Linked DNA regions of Homo sapiens: region 2 is linked to region 1. The links are contacts of gene promoters, found by promoter capture Hi-C in human tissues and cell types (Jung and others, 2019). All regions are on one chromosome and are shown on one strand. Each heading gives the region's core, a stretch centred on a gene start or on the middle of the fragment in contact. The rest is flanking DNA. Distances are from core to core; before and after follow the strand shown.

The links. The method cuts DNA at HindIII sites, captures the fragments that hold promoters and counts their contacts. A contact is called where the count stands out against the background at its distance.
Region 2: the fragment with the promoter of TAOK1 here is called in contact with the fragment with the promoter of RAB34 in region 1 in 1 of the 25 tissues and cell types used here (hippocampus).

The regions. Positions count from the first base shown.
Region 1 is chr17:28,714,697-28,721,156 of GRCh38, reverse strand. It overlaps RAB34 (RAB34, member RAS oncogene family), which reads left to right and starts at 3,289. Exons shown (of 10, transcript NM_031934.6): 1 at 3,289-3,944; 2 at 4,163-4,254; 3 at 5,099-5,164; 4 at 5,256-5,357; 5 at 5,452-5,516; 6 at 5,650-5,701; 7 at 5,881-5,962; 8 at 6,035-6,125; 9 at 6,257-6,364; 10 at 6,447-6,460. The coding sequence starts at 3,891. RPL23A (ribosomal protein L23a) reads right to left here and starts at 1,172. Exons shown (of 5, transcript NM_000984.6): 1 at 1,127-1,172; 2 at 267-450. The coding sequence starts at 1,151. It overlaps SNORD42B (small nucleolar RNA, C/D box 42B), which reads right to left and starts at 607; the gene lies at 541-607. RefSeq lists enhancers at 458-617, 958-1,177, 1,608-1,657, 1,314-1,915, 1,916-2,516 and a silencer at 3,197-3,456. The HindIII fragment of the contact is 4,543 bases long and covers 454-4,996 here.
Region 2 is chr17:29,386,211-29,392,670 of GRCh38, reverse strand. It overlaps TAOK1 (TAO kinase 1), which reads right to left and starts at 2,308. Exons shown (of 20, transcript NM_020791.4): 1 at 1,647-2,308. MIR4523 (microRNA 4523) reads right to left here and starts at 2,009; the gene lies at 1,941-2,009. It also overlaps the pseudogene RNU4-34P. RefSeq lists enhancers at 903-1,142, 2,303-2,392, 2,513-2,752 and a silencer at 1,793-2,262. The HindIII fragment of the contact is 18,861 bases long and covers 1-6,460 here.

The DNA.
Region 1 (6,460 bases), core at 2,040-4,539:
GGTCTCGAACCCCTGACCTCAAGTGATCCGCCCCCCCTCGGCCTCCCAAAGTGCTGGGATTACAGACGTGAGCCACCGCGCCCGGCCTCTGGGCTGATCCTGCCAGTTTTGTAAATGCAGCAGAAACAATCTCCTCATACTTCCAATTAGAGAAGCACACTGGACACAATTTGCGTTTGAGAAACCATCACGCAGAGTGAGTGAATTTCCAAATTACCAATGGAGAATACCCAAATCTTTTCATGGGTACAGGGGGCAGTACTGACTTGTTTCTCCTGGGAGCGCTCTTCCGAGGATATTTGGGCTGTCTCCGGAGTCGCAGTGTCTTCGGCCGCCGGAAGGTGGGTGACGTGCGGATCTTCTTCTTTTTGTGGCTGTGGACACCTTTCAACACTGCCTTCTTGGCCTTTAAAGCCTTCGCTTTGGCTTCAGCTTTAGGAGGGGCAGGAGCTGGGAGAAAAGGAAAGAAAACGTGGGTGCGGGATTTAGAAATCGGTCACTTCCGGCCCCAAGAACTGCAGTGGGCCACCCTGGCCACAGGTGCATCAGTGGTTCCTTTGAAGACATCACAAGTGTCAGGAGATTAAAACTTTTCCATCATATGCACGATACCAGAGGCGAAAGCGACCAACTCTAAGTAACTCCAGGGATACGACTATGAAACAAAGTAGCACTGAATGAACGCTTGATACTTTCCAGAAAATGTCCTACGAATTTTACACATACCCCATCGCAAAACCACGCTGCGGAGAGAGGGGCGGGTAATGTAGCCCGGTTGAACATGAACCAGAAGGAAAATGGTTAAAGCTGAGGGCACTAATTCCTTACAGGCCCGGGGACATGGAGCTCCAACCAGTGGATGCATGTAGCTTCCCAGAACCGAATGTCTGGCCCTCCCTGGCGGATGATGCCTGCCGCGTTGCCCCCCCCCAACTCCCTCTACCGGAACTCAGCCCACGAGGCTGGGCCCACGCGGCCCACGTATACTGCAGCGTGTCCGAAACGCAGGGAGCAGCCCCGGAGCAGAGCCCTCAGGGCTTAGCCCAGCAGCCGTGTTCCCAATTCGTTCGCTCTGCGGCGCGGCAATCCCCGGTAAACCAGCTGCGGCCCCATCACCAACACACACCTTCCTTCTTCGCTTTCGGCGCCATCTTGTGAAAAGGGTCTCCAATGCTCGTTCCCACGGGCTTATAGCGCCAAAGAGCACTAAAGACTCGCGATGCTTTGTACTTAGAGCTGATTGGGTAATTTGCAGAGCGGCGCCCTCTGGGAACGGTAGTTAGGTTTAATTTCTTTTTCGTGCGTGAACAAACATGCGCCACTCCTCCCCTCAAAGGCACTAAAGCTTCATGGGGGTTGTAGTTTTTTGTTTTTTGTTTTTTGTTTTTTTTTTGAGCGCTCTGTCGCCCAGGCTGGAGTGCAGTGGCGCGATCTCGGCTCACTGTAAGCTCCGCCTCCCGGGTTTACGCCATTCTCCTGCCTCAGCCACCAGAGTAGCTGGGACTACAGGCGCGTGCCACCATGGGGATTGTAGTTTTTTGAAGACACGCGTTTATTTGCTCAGGCCAGCGGACGGCGTAGCCGGCTGGCGCTCGGGTCTGGTCCCGGGAGCTTCCTATCTTGAGCAACTGCCAGTCTCAGGGAAGAGGATTGCCATGCCAGGAGGCAGGAACGCTGCCAAGAGGAAAGAACACATTTGGATTGACTCGGGAGTTAGATACAGCTAAGTTCTAGAGTGCTGGAGCAGGATTTGCTCGGTCGAACTGAGGTCCAGAGAGGAATGTGGTTTATCAATAACACAGTGATTTGGTGGCAGAAAAAAATCAAGTCAGGGCCGGGCGCGGTGACTCACGCCTGTAATCCCAGCACTTTGTGAGGCCGAGGTGGACGAATTGCTTCGAGCCCAGGAGTTCGAGACCACCCTGGGCAACACGGCGAAACCCTGTCTCTACAAAAGAATACAAAAATTAGCCGGGCGTGGTGGTGCGTGCCTGTAGTCCCAGTTCCTTGGGAGGCTGAGGTGGGAGGATCGCTTCAGCCCTGGAGGTCGAGGCTGCAATGAGCCATTCCAGCCTGGGTGGCAGAGTGAGACCCTGTCTCAAAATAAATAAATAAATAAATAAATAAATAATCGAGTCACGAGGGGGAAGTGTCAGAGGAAGTACAAGGCGGCCACACCTGCCCCTCTTTACCTGCGACACTGATACTGTCAAGTTTTACTGCGTTTCCTGATAATGCATTTGAAGTTCTATGAAAATTCCACACATTTCTCCAAGATTCGCTAGTTTTTCCGGTTAGTAACTTCACTCACAATCCCCTGCCCTAAACTAGTCTTCCCTTCCGTGTCCTGGTCATCTTTACATCCTCAAATTCAGCTCCAGACACAGAGAAAGGTTTCTTAACACTCAGGTTCGCTTCTCCTAAGGTGTGTGCCTAACCCATCCCCACTTGATCCTTTCTTCTTCCCTCTCCCTTCATAAAACCAGACATGTCCCCTTTGACGGTGAAATTGATTGTGCACTGCCCCCTCTTCTATCCTGCAGGACTTTGCACAAAGGAGTTGTCCCTGGGGGATAGATTCCAATGGGGCCAGAACAATGAACACCCATACCAGAGGGGAGTCCCCGCCTCCCAGAGCGGAGACCACCCCGAAGAGCAGAGTTTCCGGGTCCACTTAGCCCTTCTTTAACCTCCCTCGAGGGAACTTGATCTTCAGCCCTCCCACCTCACAATCTACACAGCAGCCTTGAAGGAAAAGACGCCAGACTTCAGACGTCTCTCTCCTCGGTGGGCACCTCATTCTAACCCTGGCACCCCCTTCGCACGCTTCCCCTCCACCATCCTCACCCCCGACCTCCCAGGGCAGAAGGGCGAGAGGGGGCAGACTCTATGAGTCACCTCCCAGGCCTGGAGTTGAGGAGGGAAGCGCCGCCTCTCCTTGGGCCCCTTCTCTCCCCCTTTCCCCTCCCTGCTGGTTCCTGGCATCGCCAGATGCTGCGCAGCAGTCTCCGATTCCCCATCACCAATTCGGCTGGGTAAGGGTCCCCATGAAGGCGCAGCCGGGTATAGAGGTGCAGGGGAGAGCAGCCTGGGGAGTCCCTATCTGGATAGGCTCCAGCCTGGGTCGGGGCGGTCCTGGTGCCCGGTGAAGCGTCAAAAGAGGGAGCCTGAGCGGGGCAACGCAGAAGGGTGGAGAGGAGGGGGTGGCGAGGGCGGGCAGCGAGGCCTGGAGCCGCCAGGAGAGGGGCGGGGGGCGGCCCTTCTCCAGGAATTTCCGGGGATCGTGTTACAGCGTTGGCGGAGCCCGAGCGGAGTGGGACTCGAGGCCCTGTAGCCGGACTGGGCCCCTCGCCCCCTCCTCCAGCGGCCTGCGGGCCTTGGCAGCGCCGCCCCTGCCCACACTGACCCCGTGTGGCGGGGCCGCTCCGCGCCCCCGGGCCGCTCTGTAATGGTAGGGCAGCCTCAGCCCCGAGATGACGTCGGGTCTCCGCGGCCCCGGGTTATTGTAGGAACCATCCGGCCCCGCGTAATCGTAGGAACTATCCGGCCCCGCGTAATCGTAGGGTCTGCGCGGGCCCGGCCCCCACCAGACGGGACTCCCCGCCCCCAATTGGCGGCCGAAGAGTCTCCTCGCCCCAGAGTCATCTTCGGGACGCCCAGGGCCCGGGTGATTTTGGGCTCGCCGCGGCCCCGGGTGATTGTTTCATCTCCGTGGCCCGCGGTGGTCGTAGCGTCTCCGAGACCGCGGACTCCCGTAGGGTCCCCGTGGCCCCGAGTTGTAGTCGGGACACCCCGGCCGCGGGTGATCGTCGGGTCTCCACGCGCCCGGGTCGCTGACGCGGATCCGGCCTCGGCGCCTTCTCAGGGCGCCCTGCAAGGCCGCAGGCAGGATGAACATTCTGGCACCCGTGCGGAGGGATCGCGTCCTGGCGGAGCTGCCCCAGGTAGGCGCCGGGGCCACGTCGGGCTTCAGTCTACAGCCCGGGGTGTGGGCGAGGAGGAGGCGGCACCAGACCAGTTAGAGGACTGGGCCCAGCCCTGCCACCCAGCTAGGCCTGGTGCTTCTGGGTGGTCCCTGCACTCCACCCCTACCCGGGCCGCTTGGCTGCGGGACAAGGGCCAGGAGTAGGAAGCTCCATTCTCTTCCATCCTTCCCACTAAGTGCCTGAGGAAGGAGGCCGCTTTGCACGGGCACAAAGACTTCCACCCCCGCGTCACCTGCGCCTGCCAGGAGCACCGGACAGGCACCGTGGGGTGAGTTAGGGACACCCACAACAAAGAGAGGAGGTCCCAGGAAACTCTGTAGTCATAGCGAGGGTAAACAACCACCCCCTTGGGGCTTCATTTCAGCCCCTACCAGCTATATGGTTATTTCCCCCTCTTTAAGCCCCTGTATCCCCTCCTTTTCTCCCAACAAGGTTGTTGTGAGTTCTATGAGATGGGGTTGGGTAGAAGGGTGGCAGCTGGATTTCTGAGTAGAGACTAAGGTGTCTGAAATGGGAAGGTGGTCACCTGCTCAGATCCCCACATAGCATCCATGGAGCCCCAGGGCAGGGGTCTGGCTGTGCTTACAGGGATGAGTCTTATTGTGGGTTTTAAAGGTAATACTGATAACAGTTGGCACCATTAATTAAGCATTTGCTGTGTGCCAGGCAGTGTTGGGTACTATCATCTTTATTGAATGGAAAAGTCCATCACTTAAGATATATCCTGATTTCAGACATTAAAATGCGGGGGGGAGGGTGTCTTAGAATATAGGACATTTATCTCATTTTAACCTTCACAACGACCCAGTAAAATATATACTAACTTTACTTAAATGTTTAAACTGAGGCTTAGAGAGGCTAAATAACGTGTCCAAAGTCACACAGCTAATCAGTGTGAGAGCTGGGATTCAAATTCATGTCTCTCTGCTTCTGGAGCACAAAACACTCCTCCTCCCCAGCACACCTGTCCACGCAGCTGCCTGGGATGCCTGGTGTCTATAATACCCTCAGCCTGGGTGCAGCTACCTTTCTGGACCTAGTCGGGAGCATTGGAACTCCCTAGGGTGAAAGAGCTCGTGCCCACTCCCCTTGCCCACTCTTGTGTCCAGCAGATTTAAGATCTCCAAGGTCATTGTGGTGGGGGACCTGTCGGTGGGGAAGACTTGCCTCATTAATAGGTAAGGGGGTGCTGGAGCTGAGCTGGGCAGGGTGGGGCCAAGCCTAGCCAGGTGGGCTGGCTCCAGATCACAGCATCTGGTACCCTCTCAGGTTCTGCAAAGACACCTTTGATAAGAATTACAAGGCCACCATTGGAGTGGACTTCGAGATGGAACGATTTGAGGTGCTGGGCATTCCCTTCAGTTTGCAGCTGTGAGTGCTTCCACACCCCTTCCAGCTATCCCTTCTCCCCAGCACCCACACCCCCCAAGATACATACCTGTGCTTCACTCTTCCTTCCTTCCAGTTGGGATACCGCTGGGCAGGAGAGGTTCAAATGCATTGCATCAACCTACTATAGAGGAGCTCAAGGTAAGGGGCTGGGTGAAGTGGGGTAGGTGGGTCTCAGAGTGCACATGGCTTCTCATATGGAGCTGGAAGGATTGGGGAAATGAGCAGTAGTGTCTTCCCTGTCAACCTGGGGCTGTTTCTGCCACTCTTCCAGCCATCATCATTGTCTTCAACCTGAATGATGTGGCATCTCTGGAACATACCAAGTAAGTGAGCATCCTGCAATATAATGGGAGGCTCCGGGAAGAGAGGGTTCAGAACAGAGGGGTGGTCAGGAAGAAGAAGAATGCATGTAGGACCAGAGAGGGGGTAATTGGGCCTATGAATGTCAGTGGGAGGGGCCCTGCAGACTCACTCATCCCTTACTTTCCACCTCCCATGGCAGGCAGTGGCTGGCCGATGCCCTGAAGGAGAATGACCCTTCCAGTGTGCTTCTCTTCCTTGTAGGTTCCAAGAAGGATCTGAGTGTGAGTGTGCCAGTGGGGGGACTTCCCAGCTTGGTGAGGGAATGCCCCCCTCTGACTCTGGCCTTCCCTCAGACCCCTGCTCAGTATGCGCTGATGGAGAAAGACGCCCTCCAGGTGGCCCAGGAGATGAAGGCTGAGTACTGGGCAGTCTCATCTCTCACTGGTGAGTTGGAGGCTTTAGGGCTCTGCTGTGACACTCTTGCCTGGCTCTCCTCTCACTGCTACACCTCCAGCTGTGCCCTGTGTCCCCAGACCCAGCACTGCCCCTGAGCACCTATCTGCTCTCTGTGTCAGGTGAGAATGTCCGAGAATTCTTCTTCCGTGTGGCAGCACTGACCTTTGAGGCCAATGTGCTGGCTGAGCTGGAGAAATCGGGGGCTCGACGCATTGGGGATGTTGTCCGTGAGTGCTTGCCTGGTTGAGGGTGGCAGAGGGCACAGTGAGCCTCCAATCCCTGCTTCACATATTTTCCACCCTTCTTTAGGCATCAACAGTGAT
Region 2 (6,460 bases), core at 1,059-3,558, 670 kb before region 1:
GTGGAATATTTTGAAATCACATCACCAGTATTTACTAAACACTTGAAAAAAATGTATCATCAGTACATGGAGACTTGAAAACTACTCTTTGGTCACAAAAAGCACTTGGCAGCACATTTCCAGAATGTTTAAATTTTTATTTCTACTCAACTAAGAACAAAACCAACAAGTACTACTGTAAACCAGATAAGATGATCTGCTTTCAGACAAACATGACAGGTAGCAAAAGAAGTGAAAAATGACTGACTACAGAAAATAGATCATAGAATAATTAGGCAGATTAATAAGAACAAAGAAACAGCTGCAGAAAGGTTTGTAACCTTACCATTTTAAAAAAAATCCAATTTCAATATTATACACAACAGTATCAACCCTAAAAATTCACAGCTTAGGGAGAAATGCCCTGAATCAGACAGGCTGTCTGTATGTAATAATTGTTAATAATTTTTTTTTTTGAAACGGAGTCTCGCTCTGTCGCCCAGGTTGGAGTGCAGTGGCACCATCTCGCCTCACTGCAACCTCCGCCTCCCGGGTTCAAGCGATTCTCCTCCCTCAGCCTCCCGAGTAGCTGGGACTACAGGCGCGTGCCACCATGCCCAGCTAATTTTTTGTATTTTTAGCAGAGACGGGGTTTCACCGTGTTAGCCAGGATGGTCTCGATCTCCTGACTTCGTGATCCGCCCGCCTTGGCCTCCCAAAGTGCTGGGATTACAGGCGTGAGCCACCGCGCCAGGCCAATAATTCTTCATGAACTACAAAAGTCATAGAAAAAGAAAAGGGAAATGAGGATGAGGAGGTACAAAATTATTTTATTTGAATTCTAACTAAAATCCAACCTGCTCACAAAAAATGTCAATCCAGACATCTCTCAAAAAGAGAGACATCAAAACTGTTCTAACAGGAGAGGTGTCCCTCTCGAGAGGCCATATCCCCCAACAATAACACCAGAACAGATACACTTCCCATGGACAGATCTCAGGGGAAGAGTATTAAAACGATACTGTCGTCGATTTAAAACCAAAGGAAAAAGAGTAACCTTTTCAAGGGAAGCGCCATTACTTCCCTCTCCTGCTCCCCCTCCCTTCTGTGTATACATGGGTCTGTGTATGAAGAAACTGCCTTGGACTTCTGCAGCATTGCAGTAGACTAGAGGATGGGGAAGGGGGAAGGGTACGGGGAGAGAAACGCTTCCATCGCCCCTACAGAAGAGGGGTATAGATTTCCTGTGCTAGGGGGTGGAATCCACCCAGCAAGCCACCCAGAGCAGTCTCCCTTCCCAAGAATACACAGACACTACAAAGGAGAAGAGGAGCAAAGGCACCAGAGGGGAAGGGGACCTCGCGCCTTTAAACCGGGGTGCACATCAACCCAGTCTCCCTGTGAGGGCCACACCTTCCTCGAAACATCCCCCTTCCACCACCCCTTCCGGTGACCCTCAGGAAAAAGGAATGGAATTGCTCTCGCCCCTTAAAACCGGAGGGCGCCCAGCTCACCAGCTTCTTCACCCCACCCACAGAATCACAGACCCTCCTTTTCTCCCTCCCCCACCCCACTCCCACATCCCTTCTTCCACACACAGGCCCGAGTGGGCCGAATTTCCCCGCCCCCCTCTATATCCCCCTTTCCCAAAGCAGAGGTGCCCTTACCCTTTCGCCGACAGGTCTGGGGCGGAGCAGGCAGGCGCAGCCCCCTGCAGCGCTCCGGTAGCCGCTACCCTGGAGGGTGAGGAGTGAGGAGGAGGAGGGGGCCCGGCGACAGATCGCCGCCCCCCACCCCCGAGCCCCAGCAAGCCGCCCAGCCCAAGCTCTGCAACAAGGGGCGGCGGCGGCGGGGGGTGGGGGGGGGGGCGAGGGGACGACCGGGGTCGAGGAGGCGCCCTCAGCGCTTGGGCTCAGTTAAGATGGCGCGGGGAAGTGCCGGGAGCCGTCTCCGTCGCCGCCTCGGGGGAACCGGCCCGGGCCTCGGCCGCCTCTAGTCCTCACACAGCCGAGGCCCTCTCGGTCCCCCGCCGCGGCCCCTCGGCGGGCGGGCCCACGCGCAGCCCTCCGCCACCAACACCACCCCTGGTAAGGAGGCGCTCACAAAGGGAAGAGAGGCCGCGGGCCGGCCGGCGGACGGCGGGGCGGGGTCCCCCGGGGCCGGGAGGCCTCAGATGTTCGCGAGTGCCTAGTGCTTTCGGCCCGCGAAGGGCGCAGGGCGAGCGGGACCCCTCCTCTCTCCTCAGGCAGGCGGCGGCACCGACTCAGTCTCTTTGCCACCCTCCCTCTCTCTCCCCGAGCCCTGAAGCCACAGAGCCCGGCCGCTGCCCAGCTTCCCCCCCTTTACCCGACACCACTCCCCTCCTCCAGACCGTCATCCCCCGTCTCCGATCTCGCGAGATTTTCCGCCTGACAGGCCGGACCCTGCGCGAGACACGACTACATGCGCGCGCGCGCGCCCTCACAGGAGCGCGCAAGGCTTGCTACGGGCAGAGTTGTCCCGGTGGCCCGGAGTTCCAGCCTCTGTCCAGCATGGCCTCACTGAGTTCGCGGAGCTTCTAATGCCACGCGGGCGTCAGGTGCATTCATTTCACCCCGGAGATCTGAAGAAGAAGAGTTTATCTGCATTCCCCTTCCTTCCTGCTTCCCACCTCCAAAGCCCGCCACTGATCCTGCGAATAAGTTTGCCCTGAAGTGTGGAATATCCCATTCCTGCACAACTCGGTTCTACACCCCCTCCCCCGTGGGATTCAGAGGTACACTGGGCAGCGCAATCAGTATGCAGTTGAGTTTTTGAGATTCTAATAGTTGATACTAATTCTTGGAACGACAGTAAGACTTGGAAATACAGATCTAAGCCACCCTATATATTGGTGATGTAGAAAAGAGATAACTTCTTGAAAAGTGTCTGTGGGTTTAGTAGGTTGAGTAATGAGAAGTTTTGGAACAAGAGCAGCAAACAAACTAAAGACTCCTATGCAAAGAAGAAGTAGAGTTTTTATTCTTTTATCTCAAAACTTTTTTTTTTTTTTTTAGGGAAAACTCCCTCAGTACTTATTCAAGAACCTAAAAGTGTAAGGCCGGGCGCGGTGGCTCACGCCTGTAATCCCAGCACTTTGGGAGGCCGAGGCGGGCGGATCACGAGGTCAGGAGATCGAGAGCATCCTGGCTAACACGGTGAAACCCCGTCTCTATTAAAAGATAGAAAAAAATTAGCCGGGCGTGGTGGTGGGCGCCTGTAGTCCCAGCTAGCTACTCGGGAGGCTGAGGCAGGAGAATGGCGTGAACCCGGGAGGCGGAGGTTGCAGTGAGCCGAGATTGCGCCACTGCACTCCAGCCTGGGCGACAGAATGAGACTCGTCTCAAAAAAAAAAAAAAAAAAGAGAGAACCTAAAAGTGTACACAAAGTGTAGTCATAAAAAATCTTGGTTCTTTAACCAACAAAACGACTGAAATAAATAAACCTGTTATATGAGTTTCATGAATAAAAATTAACTCTGGGCCGGGCCCGGTGGCTCACGCCTGTAATTATAGCACTTTGGGAGGCTGAGACGGGCGGATCACCTGAGGTCAGGAGTTCGAGACCAGGCTGGCCATAGTAGATCTGTGCTCCAAGGAAGGAGCATGTTGATCAGACCTAAGCAATCCGTGTATACAGTGTATGTATGACCTTCCTCTAGTCTGGCTCAGGGATGGGCACATGATCCAATTAGAGCCAATGGGTACAATAAGATTTTCTCTGGCTTTTTGGGAAAGAAACTTTCTTATTTTCTCCCAAAAATGTAATATATATATTGAACTCCCAAAATGGAATCCAGTGGTGTGATCCTGGCTCACTGCAACCTCTGCCTCCCAGGATCAAATGATTCTGCTACCTCAGTCTCCCAAGTAACCGGAACTACAGGCATATGCCACCGTGCTGGCTAAGTTTTGTATTTTTTGTAGAGATGGGTTTCGCCATGTTGCCCAGGCTGGTCTTGAACTCCTGGCCTCAAAGGATCCACCTGCTTCGGCCTCCCAAAGTACTAAGATTACAGATGTGAGCCACCGTGCCCAGCCTATGATTTTTCAATGAGCAATAATCACACCTCGGATAAATCTCATTGGCTACAATACTGCCACTGCACAAAGTTTCTGAAATTTGATGATGATGATAACAAAAATAGTGAAATAGTTAACACGTATTGAGTGCTGATTATATGCCAGAGAGAGTTCTAAACACTCTACTTATTTACTCCTCACAATAACCATATTGGGTGGGTATAATTATTATTCCCTTTTAGAAATGGTGGAACTGGGCCTGGCACGGTGGCTCATGCCTGTAATCCCAGCACTTTGGGAGGCTGAGGTGGGCAGATTACCTGAGGTCAGGAGTTCGAGACCAGCCTGGCCAACATCGTGAAAAAAATTAGCCGGGCATGGTGGTACACGCCTGTAATCCCAGCTACTCAGGAGGCTGAGGCAAGAGAATTGCTTGAGCCCAGGAGACAGAGGTTGCAGTGAGAGGAGATTGTGCCACTGCACTCCAGCCTGGCCAACAGAACGAGACTCTGTCAAAAAGAAAGAAAGAGAGAGAGAGAGAAAGAAAGAAAGAGTGGCACTGAGGCACAGAGAAGAATTTTGATTAACTTGTCAAAGTTCTTATAGCCAGTTTGTGGTGAAGCCAGTTGTCAAACTCAGCTTTCATCCAGAACCACTGTGTTCTTTTTTTTCTTTTTTTCTTTTTTTTGAGACAGAGTCTCACTCTGTCGCCCAGGCTGGAGTGCCATGGCGCGATCTCAGCTCACTGCAATCTCTGCCTCCCGGGTTCAAGCAATTCTTCTACCTCAGCCTCCTGAATAGCTGGGACTACAGGCGCGTGTCACTGCGCCCGGCTAATTTTTGTATTTTTAGTAGAGACGGGGGGGGGTTCACCATATTGGCCAGGCTGGTCTCGAACCCCTGATCTCGTGATTCACCCGCCTTGGCCTCCCAAAGTGATGGGATTACAAGCTGAGCCACTGTGCTCGGTCTATATTCTTTTTTTTTTTTTTTTTTGGGACGGAGTCTCGCTCTGTTGCCCAGGCTGGAGTGCAGTGTCACGATCTCAGCTCACTGCAACCTCCACCTCCCGGGTTCAAGCAGTTCTCAGAGCCACTACATTCTATTTCCTTGAGAGAATGTAAGGACTGGAATTGCTATTGCCTTTTGCTGTGAAGCCCCAGAACAAAGGCAACTCAGTGGGAAACACATTCTGGAGATAAAACCAGATCACTGAAGCCCTGGAACTAACTCTGTCTGAAGTCAGTCCTGACCCTGGAGTTTTTAGCATTTGTGTGCTAAAACATTCCCATTTTTCTTAAGCTAACGTTGGGTCTGGTTCTCTTTTGTTTGCAACCAAATAGTCCTCACACAGAACTGTTTATTTTTTGGCCTTTCCCACCAGGCTGTGATCTTCACAAGCATATGAATATTTGTCTTATTTATATCTATGTCCACAAACTTAGCATAATGTACATAATGACATTCAACAAATGTTTGCTATCAGTTCAATAATTCTGCAGACATTTTCTCCTATGTGTCAGAAATTGGGTTAGGTGTGGGAGATGTCAAGAAGAGTGAGTGAATGAAAGCTGTTTGCCTGGAGTGTATGGAAGAATAGCTGCTGCAAATGTTAGTGTGACAGAGAACTCTAGGAAAAGGTGTACACACATGCTAGAGTTCTCTGGAGGTTACTGTCACTTTGGCACTATGTGCCTGGCCGATGGGTATTTCTGGAGTCTTACACATGTCAAATGTTTTCAGGATTGTCTAAGGTTCTAAGAATGTCTAGAAGTCACCTGCTTCCCAAACTGATGTACGTATCGGAGTTATAGCCGGTCCTGTCATGTAAATGATGTGTTTTCTGCTATGCTTCTCTGTGTCTCTTGACTCCCAAAAGCATATACTGTAAAATGAATATGCCCTACCCATGTCTCAGACTTATAGTGAAGATCCTGTCTGGATATGAAAGTTCTGTTGTATCCAGGTGATAGCTGCTTTATTTCACCTGACCACAAGTGCTAATATATTCTACTCTAGCTAGCATCCCCACAAAAAACGTATCAGTTAGCCTCACTAGCAGTTCTATTCCACTTGTAGTGAACATCTGTTATTCTTGTCTGTCCCAAATTTCTCCCTCTTCTTCTGGCAAAAAGTACCCTATGGCCGGGTGTGGTGGTTCACACTTGCAATCCCAGCACTTTGGGAGGCTGAGGTAGGTAGATCACTTGAGCTCAGGAGTTTGAGACCAGCCTGGTCAACATGGGGAAACCCCATCTCTACAAAAATTAGCTGGGTGTGCTGGTGTGCACCTATAGTCCCAGCTACTAGGGAGGCTGAGGTGGGAGGATCACTTGAGTCTGGGAAGTTGAGGCTGCAGTGAGCCCTGTTTACACCACTGCACTCAAGCCTGGGTGACAAAGTGAGACCCTGTCTCAAAAAAAAATTTTTTTAATTACTCT